Linked DNA regions of Homo sapiens: region 1 is linked to region 2. Evidence: promoter capture Hi-C in human tissues and cell types (Jung and others, 2019). All regions are on one chromosome and are shown on one strand. Each heading gives the region's core, a stretch centred on a gene start or on the middle of the fragment in contact. The rest is flanking DNA. Distances are from core to core; before and after follow the strand shown.

Region 1 (5,316 bases), core at 1,325-3,824, 41 kb before region 2:
ATTTGCAATAGAGCCTCAGTTTATTTTGCCCACTAACAGTAACATTATATGGTCAATGAACTCAAGGGTAGGGAAGGAAAAACTAATTGTTCACGAGTAATGAGATTTTGCGCCCCCATCCCTTTTTTTTTTTTTTCTGGAGACAGAGTCTCACCCTTTTGCCCAGGCTGAAGTGCAATGGGTCTATCTCAGCTCACTGCAACTTCCACCTCCCAGATTCAAGTGATTCTCCTGCCTCAGCCTCCCGAGTAGCTGGGGTTACGGGCACACCCCACCACACCCGGCTAATTTTTGTATTTTAGTAGAGAACAGGTTTCACCATGTTGGCCAGACTGGTCTCCAACTCATGGCCTCAAGTGACCCTCCCTCCTTGGCCTCCCAAAGTGCTAGGATTATAGGCATGAGCCACCATGCCTGGCCTGCCCTTCTATTTTTATTTGCCTGAGTGGAAGTGTCCTCTATGCACTATTCCAAGGTGTATCATTTCACACTGGCCCTCTGGAAAATGTTCTACATAACCAAACAACCAGCTGTGTAATTTTTATGAGGTTGTGCTGGCTCAGTAACATACCACCTTGCATTTGCTTTTCCTCATTCCCTGCCTCACTTACTTTTTCCTTCACTCCTGCTGCTCTTGAATTGCATCTCCCAGTAAAACCTTAGTATTCAAACTTTGCCTTAGGCTTTGGGTTCTAGTTAGTTCATGAAGTAGCTGTGATGGCTAATACTGAATGTCAACTTGATTGGATTGAAGGATGCAAAGTATTAATCCTGGGTAGGTCTGTGTGGGTGTTGCCAAAGGAGATTAACATTTGAGTCAGTGGGCTGGGGAAGGCAGACCCGCCCTTAATCTGGGTGAGTATCATCTAATCAGCTGCCAGCAAATATAAAGCAGGCAGGAAAACCTGGAAAGGTTAGACTGGCTTAGCCTCCCCACCTACGTCTTTCTCTCATGCTGGATATTTCCTGCGCTCAAACATCAGACTCCAAGTTCTTCAGCTTTGGGACTCAGACTCAGACTCAGACTGGCTTCCTTGCTCCTCAGCTTGCAGATTGTGGGACCTTGTGATCATGTGAGTTAATAATAAACTCTCCTTTATATATATGTCTATCCTATTAGTTCTGTCCCTCTAGAGAACCCTAATACAGATTTTGGTACCAGGAGTGGTTCTAGAGGAACAGAATATTAAGGATGGAGTTATTTTGTTGGTTTGGGGGTTTCTGGAGGTGGCTGCTTAAAATGATTAGACCCAAAAATACTAAGGACTGTACTTCTAATAGTATGGAGGATACCAAGAGTCCCTGGCATAAACTGTTTAGAAAGTTAGGCAAAATAAATGTATTTGACACTCCTGATCCACTGCTCGTGAGAGACAAGGAGTTTAGTGACTCTATACATAATACCTTTGACCATATGCGGAGAACCAAGGAACATAATGAAGCTGGTTGGTTGCTCCTAAGTTCACTAGACACAGTGATGAAAGAAAATAATGAACTCAGGGATTCTGTCTCCCAGCTTCAGAAGCAGATATTGAGCCTCAAATCTTCTAAGATTGCCCTGAGTGAGAGTCTTATCTCCTGTGGAGAAAGAGCTGAAATTGTGGAAAATCACACACAAGCTCTTATCACGCAAGAGGCTGACCTGCAATGAAAGGTGCATGCACAGCCTCACCAGGTGTCTCCTGTTAAAATGAGGGCAATGATTAGAGGAGAATGGGACCCTGCAACTTCGAATGGGGACGTGTGGGATGAAGCTGGGGACACTGAGCTTGTAAACTCTGGTGAACTCTTTTTGCCAGAAGAAACGGCTTCCCCATCACCAGTAGTGGCAACATTCCCTCCCTGACCTACACTGGCATCAGCCTTTCCACCTTTCTCTGAGGAGATAAACCCTGCACTGCCTGAGGCAACAGTGATGGCCTCCCCTGAGCCAGTTGCCAGGCAAGATAATGTTGATTCTCCTCAGGAGCCACCCCAATACTCCTGTTTGCTTCTGACCTATAAGTCCTGGCAGGGCCCTAGAAGTGAGGTTGAGAGTGTGACCCATGAGGAGGTACACTACACTCGAAAAGAACTGCTTGAGTTCTCTAATTTAAATGAACAGAAATCTGGAGAACAGGCATGGGAATGGATATTAAGGGTGTGAGATAATGGTGGAAGGAACAGAGTTGGATCAGGCTCAATTTATTGATTTGGGCCCACTAAGTAGGGATTCTGCATTTAATGTTGCAACTTGGGGAGTTAAAAAAGGTTCTAATAGTTTATTTGCTTGGTTAGCCGAAATATGGATTAAAAGATGGCCCACTGTGAGTGAGCTGGAAATGCCTGATCTCCCTTGGTTTAATGTAGAGGAAGGGATCCAAAGGCTTAGGGAGATTGGGATGCTGAAGTGGATTAGTCACTTTAGACTTACTCATCCCAGCTGGGAGGGTCCAGAAGATATACCCTTGACCAATGCTTTGTGAAATAGATTTGTGAGGGCAGCACCTGCATTTTTTAAGAGCCCTGTAATTGCTCTTCTCTGTATGTCAGATCTAACAGTGGGAACCACAGTCACCCGACTACAAAATTTAAATACAATGGGAATAATTGGATCCTGAGATGGCACGGACAACTTGGCAGCACCCAGCTGTCAAAGGAAAGGTGGGCACAGCTACCATAATGGACAGCAGAGGCAAAGCAGCAATCACATAGTCTGACTCACATAGAGCTCTGGCATTGGCTAATTAATGATGTTGTTCTTAAAAGTGAAATTGATAGGAAGCCTACTGCATAACTTCCAGGTCAAATGAACAAAAGACTAATTTGAACAGAGAATCATAGCCCCTCAGTCAATTTCCAGACTTGAGCCAGTTTACAGACCTGGAATCCCTTGAATGAAGGGGGGCCCAGGTCCCATTGAGGAAGAACCCCACTACACTACCAACAATTTATGCTAATCTTTCTCCCATCCTTCCCCAAGGACACATCCAGCCTTTTACCAGAGTGTGCAGTGGGGAAAGGGAAATGATCAGACATTTCAGGGACGACTGGACACTGGCTGTGAGCTGATGTTGATTCCAGGGGACCCGAATTGTGGTCCTCCAGTTAAAGTAGGGGTTTATGGAGGTAATGGAGTTTTAGCTCAGGTCCTACTTACACTGGGTCCCCGACTCATCTTGTGTTCATTTCTCCTGTGCCAGAATGCATAATTGGCATAGACATACTTAGCAGCTGGCAGAACTCCCATATTGGCTCCCTGACTGGTAGGGTGAGGGCTATTATGGTGGGAAAGGCCAAATGGAAGCCATTAGAACTGCCTCTACCTAGGAAAATTATAAATCAAAAACAACACCGCATCCCTGGAGGGACTGCAGAGATTAGCGCTACCATCAAGGGCTTGAAAGCCACAGGGGCAGGGGTGGCGATTCCCACCACATCCCCATTCAACTCTATCTGGCCTGTGCAGAAGACAGATGGATCTTAGAGAATGACAGTGTGTTATCATAAGCTTAACAAAGTGATGACTTCAATTGCAGCTGCTGTACCAGATGTGTTTGCATCGCTTGAGCAAATTAACATGTCTCCTGGTACCTTGTATGCAGCCGTTGACTTGGCAAATGACTTTTTCTCCATTCCTGTCTGTAAGGCCCACCAGAAGCAATTTGGCTTCAGCTGGCAAGGCCAGCAATATACTTTTACTGTCCTACCTCAGGGGTATATCAACTCTCCAGCTTTTGTCATAATCTGATTCAGAGAGACCTTGATCAGTTTTCACTTCCACAATATATCACATTGGTCCATTACATTGCTGACATTATGCTAATTGGATCCAGTGAGCAAGAAGTAGCAAACAGACTGGACTGATTGGTGAGACATTAGCATGCCACAGCATTGAAAATAAATGCAACTACAATTCAGGGACTTTCTACCTCAGTAAAATTTCTAGGGGTCCAGTGGTATAGGGCATGTTGAGATATTCCTTCCAAGGTGAAGGATAAGTTGCTGCATTTGGCCCCTTCTACAACCAAGAAACAGGCACAACACCTAATGGGCCTATTTGCATTTTGGAGGCAACACATTCCTCATTTGAATATGTTCCTCTGGCCCATTTATTGAGTGACCCAAAAGGCTGCCAGTTTTGAGTGGGGTCCAGAACAGAAGAAGGCTCTGCACCAGGTCCAGGCTGCTATGCCAGCTTCTCTGCCACTTGGGCCATACGACCCAGCAGATCCAATGGTGCTTGAGGTGTCAGTGGCAGAAAGAGATGCTGTTTGGAGCCTTTGGCAGGCCCCCATAGGTGGACCACAGCAGAGGCCTCTAGGATTTTTGAGCAAGGTCCTGCCATCTTCTGCAGATAACTAATCTCATTTTGAGAGACAGCTCTTGGCCTGTTACTGGGCTTTGGTGGAAACTGAACGTTTGACGATGGGTCATCAAGTCACCATACGACCTGAACTGCCTGTTATGAACTGGGTGCTTTCTGACTCATCTAGCCATAAAGTAAGTCATGCACCGCGCCATTTCATCATCAAATGGAAGTGGTATATACGTAATTAGGCTCGAGCAGGTCCTGAAGGCACAGTTAAGTTACATGAGGAAGTGGCTCAAATGCCCATGGTCTCTACTCCTGCCACCCTGCCTTCTCTCCCCCAGCCTGCACCGATGGCCTCATGGGGAGTTCCCTATGATCCGTTGGCAGAGGAAGAGAAGATTAGGGCCTGGTTTATAGATGGTTCTGCACAATATGCAGGCACCACCCAAAAGTGGACAGCTGCAGCACTATAGCCCCTTGCTAGGGCATCCCCAGAGGACAGTGGTGAAGGGAAATCTTCCCAGTGGGCAGAACTTCGAGAAGTACACCTGGCTGGGCACTTTGCATGGAAAGAGAAATGGCCAGATGTGCGATTATATGCTGATTCATGGGCTGTAGCCAATGGTTTGGCTGGATGGTCAGGGACTTAGAAGAAGCATGATTGGAAAATTGGTGACAAAGAAACTTGGGGAAGAGGTATGTGGATGTGGACCTCTCTGAGTGGTCAAAAACTGAAGATATTTGTATTTCATGTGAGTGCTCAGCAACAGGTTACCTCAGCAGAGGAGGATTTTAATAATCGAGTGGATAGGATGGCCTGTTCTGTGGACACCACCCAGCCTCTTTCCCCAGCCACCCCTGTCATCACCCAGTGGGCCCATGATAAAAGTGGCCATGGTGGCAGTGATAGAGGTTATGCTCAGCAACATGGACTTCTACTCACCAAGGCTGACCTGGCTACAGACACTGCTGAGTGCCCAATTTGCCAGTAGCAGAGACCAACACTGAGCCCTCAATATGGC
Region 2 (5,775 bases), core at 170-2,669:
TGTTTGGTGATCTCTGTTAATCTCTATCATGGGAGATCATAAGAATCCAGGGCAACAGTAACAGCTTCTGAGTTTTTAAATTAAAAATAACAGTAATATAATCCTTAAATTTTTAAAATGTAGGACACTAAACAAGTAAAATCTAAATCCAGAGTACATCTGACCTCAAAGTTCATGGGCTTCTCACTTCCCTGGCCATAGTTTAAAGGTGTGTGTGTGTGTATATATATATATATACATATATATACACACACACACACACACACACACACACACACACACACTATGGACTACATCCAGTTCAAACTGGATTTCCAACATTTGAGTAAATCCCTGCAATGAAGAGAAAGAGCAAAGGCCTAGGAGTCAACTGGTTTCTAGCCATTTCTGGGGTGTAAGAATATGTGTATTTCTTGATCCTCAGTTCCAGCATCAATTAAAGGGAGTTAATTTTACCATCTATATTCACTGTTTTTGTGGTTACCCTGGGGCTCAAAAAAGACACTGATTGCTCAATAAATTCTTGTTCCTGGAGTCGCTGTTATCAATATGGTTATATAAAATGAAAGCGAACTAGAAGACAGGAGATGACATTCTTAAATTAGTGGCGTGTTTTACTGGTCGTCACCAACCCTCACATTTGTTTCATCACAAAAACAAAACAAAACTTTGCTAATTGCAAAGGAAGAAAAAATGCACCTGATCATTGCTTTAAAATTGTATGCATTTGGTTATTACTGATATGAGCTTTTTGTCATTTGTGTTTTTAAATTTTTTCCTTTTATGATTGTCTATGCCCTTTACTCATTTGCTTTTAGAGATGTTCATTGATTTGAATATAGATATTTTATTTTTCATGCAACAGTCCGTATTTATTGGTTGGGTGCGGTGGCTCACATCTGCAATCCTAAGCTTTAGGAGGCTGAGTCAGGAGGATGCCTGGGCCCAGGAGGTCGAGATTGCAGTGAGCCGTGATCACCACTGCACTCCAGCCTGGGTGACAGAGCGAGACACCATCTCTAAAAAAAAAAAAAATACTATATTTACCTCTCTCTCTCTCTCTCTCTGTCCAATACACCCTAATATTCCCGTCCCCACTATGGTGATTTACCTCTTCATTTTGTTTACGGTGTGTGTGGAGCGGGGGTGAGAGAGCAGGCGTGCAGTTGCCTTGGTTCAGCAGCCAGCCCATCGCTCCTGCCTAGTGTGACTGTGAATACTAGGTGTATGTTACAACCGGGAGCGGTGTACACTCGGGGAACCGCATCTTTGGAAACTTCGGTCCGTAGCGGCCGCTAGGATTCTCCGCAGCCCCGCACCCCGGTGGCCGAACCGCCTGCCCCGGCCCAGACGCAGCCGCCGCGCCCGCCCACCCGGCTGCGCCCCGGGGCGCGCGCCCGTGCCCGGCACCCGCCCGCGCCGCCGCGCCGCTCCGGAGCCCGCTGCGGTCACGCTGCGCCCGGCGCCGCAGGGTGGGCGGCGAGGCACTCACGAGGGGGACGCTGAGGGCTTCCGCGCGGGCCACCCGGGTCAAGCGCGCTCCGCCGGGAAACTTCTGCGGGCGCCGGGCTGAAGCTCCGGGCAGGGCTGGGAAGGAAAGGTAAGAAGGTGAGCCCGGGGGCGCTGCGTCCGCCGCCTTCCGGTGCTGTCCGCACCCTCGCACCTCGCGGCCGCTTCGGGCAACTTAGCGGGCGCGGCTTCTGCTGGGCCGCCGACCCCTGCGAGCGCTTGCGTCTCGCTGCCCCGCGCTGCCCGCGCCGCTCCCTTCCCGGCTCCGGTCAACTCCGCGCCCTGGGGTCCGGGGTCTGGGGTCCCGGCTGTGTCGCCGCTCACAGCTCGGAGGTCTAGGGGATCCTTTGCTGCGGTTCCTATCCGCGCCGACCCCTGAAGAACGCGAGTCGTATGCCCTAGAGGCTTCTGGGCGAATATTCCTCCCAGATCTTTTCCTGCAGGTCCTACTCTGGCCCCAGGCACCCTGGAGCCGAAATAAACAGGCCAGTTTTGCAAGGGAGAAAAGCCGTTCCTAGGGGCCCTTGTCAGTCCTGGGGAAGTCATGCCAGCGCCGGGAGTTTCCTTCCCCCCTACTCCCGCCCCCGGTCTGTAAGCAAAGGGCCTGACTGGTGTCAGTGCTCTCACACTGTTCTCACAGAGTTGGGGGTACAAAAAAGCTGCCTCATCAAAGGTCGCGCGGACCTGTTTTCTCCATTTGGGGATCCCCCTGCCAAAAAAGAAATTTGCCAACCCCTAAATTGTCTTATCACCATGTCGGTTACAGTGGTATAGTTTTGAGGGTCTGTATTTTAGGCAAAGATGAAAGGCACAACCAAAATACAGTAAGAGGGGCAGTGCCAAAAATTTAGCCAGAAGACATTTGCAGAAAGTGAAAAATTCTGTTTGTAAATAATAAATGGAAAAGTAGAATTAGAAGCCCACTTTTGGACGCAATTTGATTTACTAAACTTCGTTGCTTCCTGACTTTTCACTCTAATTCCGGTAGTTAGATATTTTGAATTTGCAAGCCTACAAACTGCAATTGAGTTTTATAGCAGCCTTAAAAAATTATTGTTGCCTGTTCATACTAAGTTTAGTGGCTATTTTTTTTCCTTCTTGTTTTTAATTCTACGGACTGTTGCATGAAAATATCCTCTTGTGAGAGTACAATAACTTGGCATTGTTCTTTGTGACAATAGAAAACCAAACAAGAACTACATGAGACAGAAAATATAAACAAAAAATTGGATCTCAGTTTCCATATTCGCAAAATGAAGAGCTCTGGCTGATCCCAGATTCCAGATATCTCTGAGGTTCTGTCCTGAAAAATCTGTGTGTGTGTGTGTGTGTGTGTGTGTGTGTGTGTGTGTGTGTGTGTCTTCAGGAGTTTGGGATACAAATATTAATTGAAATCTAAGATATTCTCTGTCCTCAAAATTTTATACATTTAAATGGGAAATATTTGATAGTTGAGTTTCTTTAATCATATCAGTCCCTCAAAATAGCTGAATCATGGTGCATCTTCTGCCTCTAAATGGTTACATTCTATGCTATTAAATAAAAATGTGTCATGGGAAACAAAAGTCCCATACTTTTCACCACAAGACTGACTAATACGGTTGACACACTAGAGCACTGATGCCTGCTTATTTTGAAACAGTCTCCAGGAAGAATTAAGAATGTTATGAAGCATTTGCTACAGTATGTGAGCATAACACATAAGCAACATGGCAGGCAAGAAATTTCAAAACTGCTTTGGAAATATCCATGATAGATCTGAAAGTCTGTAAACTGCAGTTGAGATCACATTTTGTAATTATGGTCATTGGTCAGTTGGGATTATGAGCTCCCTCGAGAGAATGTCCCTCCAATTAATAGAAGAGTATATCGAATCACCGATTCGATTGTTTTAAAGGAAGAGAGAAAATGTTTCTCCCTTTTATCTAAGTAGTTATAAGAAAAAGTCTTACAAGGAAAATTACATCAGGTGTTTTCTAAATTAAATAAATAACCGAAAGTTCCTGACTGAAATTACCTATAAAAATGCAGGGTCCTCCTCCAACCCAGAGAATCCAGGGATTGATTCACACAGACTTTTAGCGAGACTTTCTTACTTTGTGTTCTTCAACAGAATAATAACCTCCAGTGACTCTGGCACACTGAAATTGGCTAGGATGGGATCATGAAGGAAGGTGTTGTGGGGTAGTATTGGAAGGACAAGCAACTGGCTAAGCTTACAGAAGAATCTCCATCCCTCTGAGCTTCATCTTCCACTCTGAACAATGCTGACAATAGTATGTAGGTTTCAGAGTTGCTGTGACTCCTAAATGGATCTGTTTTAGGAATTAGTACCTGCACAGAGAAAGAGCACAGCTGATCTTGGTTCTTCCTGTCTTCTTTGGAAGGTGTTTGTTTCCTAGCTGAACAAATTGCAGCTGAACTGTAGATAACAGCTTTTGCTTTTAATTTCAAAATTCTGTGTGGCAAAATCTTGATAATTGTTGAATCTGGGTAACAGGTATATGGGAATTTGTTGTATACTATTTTCTCTATTTTTGTATGTGTTCAAAATTATCAGAAAAAAATTTAAGTGTGAATCTGAAAAAAAAACCCCACACTTTGAGTTATTTCTAGTCCAGGATTTCATTTTACATTGTCTGTTTCATTTTACATTGTATTTTTTAATTAGTGAATATTTAAATATAGAGAAATATAAATTATGTACTATATAGGGAGTGGATGGGCAGCGACTGGTCCTGGAGAACAATCCATGGCAGTCTTCAATTTTTTGTGTGGAATATTTTTTATTATGAAACAATCTAAAGAAAATATGACAGTGTTGATGGTTGTTAATTCTGGTTGTTGGGTTCATGGATTTTTTTAAATGTTTATATTTAAAATTTTTTTACATTGGTATAAAATCACCATATTGTTTCCCAAAATCATTATAAGAATACAAATAATGCAGCTGTTTTTAAAAAGGTAAAAATAGTTTCTATCCCACTATCAAGATATATTCATCTTTAACATGAAGTGAAAATCATTGCGTATGTCTTTCTATTTTTACACAAATAGGATATGTTGGTCGGGCTTGGTGGCTCACGCCTGTAATCCCAGCACTTTGGGAGGCTGAGGCGGGCGGATCACCTGAGGTCAGGAGTTTGAGACCAGCCTGGCCAACGTGGTGAAACCCCGTGTCTCTACTAAAAATACAAAAATTAGCCAGGCGTGGTTGCGTGCGCCTGCAGTCCCAGCTACTTGGGAGGCTGAGGCAGGAGAATTGTTTGGACCTGGGAGGCGGAGCTTGCAGTGAGCTGAGATCGCGCCACCGCACTCCAGCCTGGGTGACAGAGCAAGACTCTGTCTTAAAAAAAAAACGATATGTCAAAAGATTAAAAAGAAATGCTTTTATAAAAAATAGAATTGTTAAATAAGCAGGAGGCCATTAGCCTGAGTCTTTCTCCCTACTTTGAGTCCCTGTGTGAAAAACTAACTTTGTACATAAACGAACAGAAAACTAACTCAACAGTGTATTTTTTGTAATAGCCAGGTTTCAGCCAATCACAGGCGGCCAGCTCATCACATTATGCCCAAATAAAGCAGATGCAGAGCTGTAGCCAATCGAGTGATTTTGGTTTTTTACTTCTGTCATCAGTGTATAAAAACTGCAGCTCATGCTGCTGGATAGAGCTCTGTGAACCTCTTCTGGTTGTGAGTGCTGCCTGATTCGTGAGTTGTTTGTTGCTCAGGTAAACTGTTAAATTGAATTTATCTAAAGTTTTTCTTTTAACAGGATGATACTATATATGCTTTTTAAAATAAAAAAATTATATTTTAACAGAAGAAACTGTAGTGAAAGTGAAGGAATTGCTGAACTTGACATCAGTATTTCTTCATTCTTAGAGATAAACAAGTCTTCCAAACTAAGAGAAAAGTTTCTGAATACATCTTGAGATCAAGATTTTTTAAACATACATTAATTTAGACAGTCAGAGGCTCCCTGTTATAAAGGATGGAGCACTGGGCACTCTTACATTACCTATAGTTTCACTTCTACTCATATCCCAGTTTTTATTCTTTCTTTCTTTATTTATTTTTTGAGACAGAGTCTCACTCTGTCACCCCAGGCTGGAGTGCAGTGGTGCGATCTTAGCTCACTGCAACCTCCGCCTCCTGGATTCAAGCAATATCCCTGCCTCAGCCTCCCAAGTAGCTGGGATTACAGGCATGCACCACCATGCCCGGCTAATTTTTGTATTTTCAGTAGAGATGGGCTTTTACCAT

The links. The method cuts DNA at HindIII sites, captures the fragments that hold promoters and counts their contacts. A contact is called where the count stands out against the background at its distance.
Region 1: a contact is called between a fragment that was not itself captured here and the fragment with the promoter of POPDC3 in region 2, in 1 of the 25 tissues and cell types used here (thymus).

What each region holds. Positions count from the first base shown.
Region 1 is chr6:105,218,599-105,223,914 of GRCh38, reverse strand. No RefSeq gene overlaps it. Among named protein-coding and RNA genes, the nearest start is that of POPDC3, 41 kb to the right of the region's middle. The HindIII fragment of the contact is 8,659 bases long and covers 1-5,316 here.
Region 2 is chr6:105,175,658-105,181,432 of GRCh38, reverse strand. POPDC3 (popeye domain cAMP effector 3) reads left to right here and starts at 1,419. Exons shown (of 4, transcript NM_022361.5): 1 at 1,419-1,600. The HindIII fragment of the contact is 10,229 bases long and covers 1-5,775 here.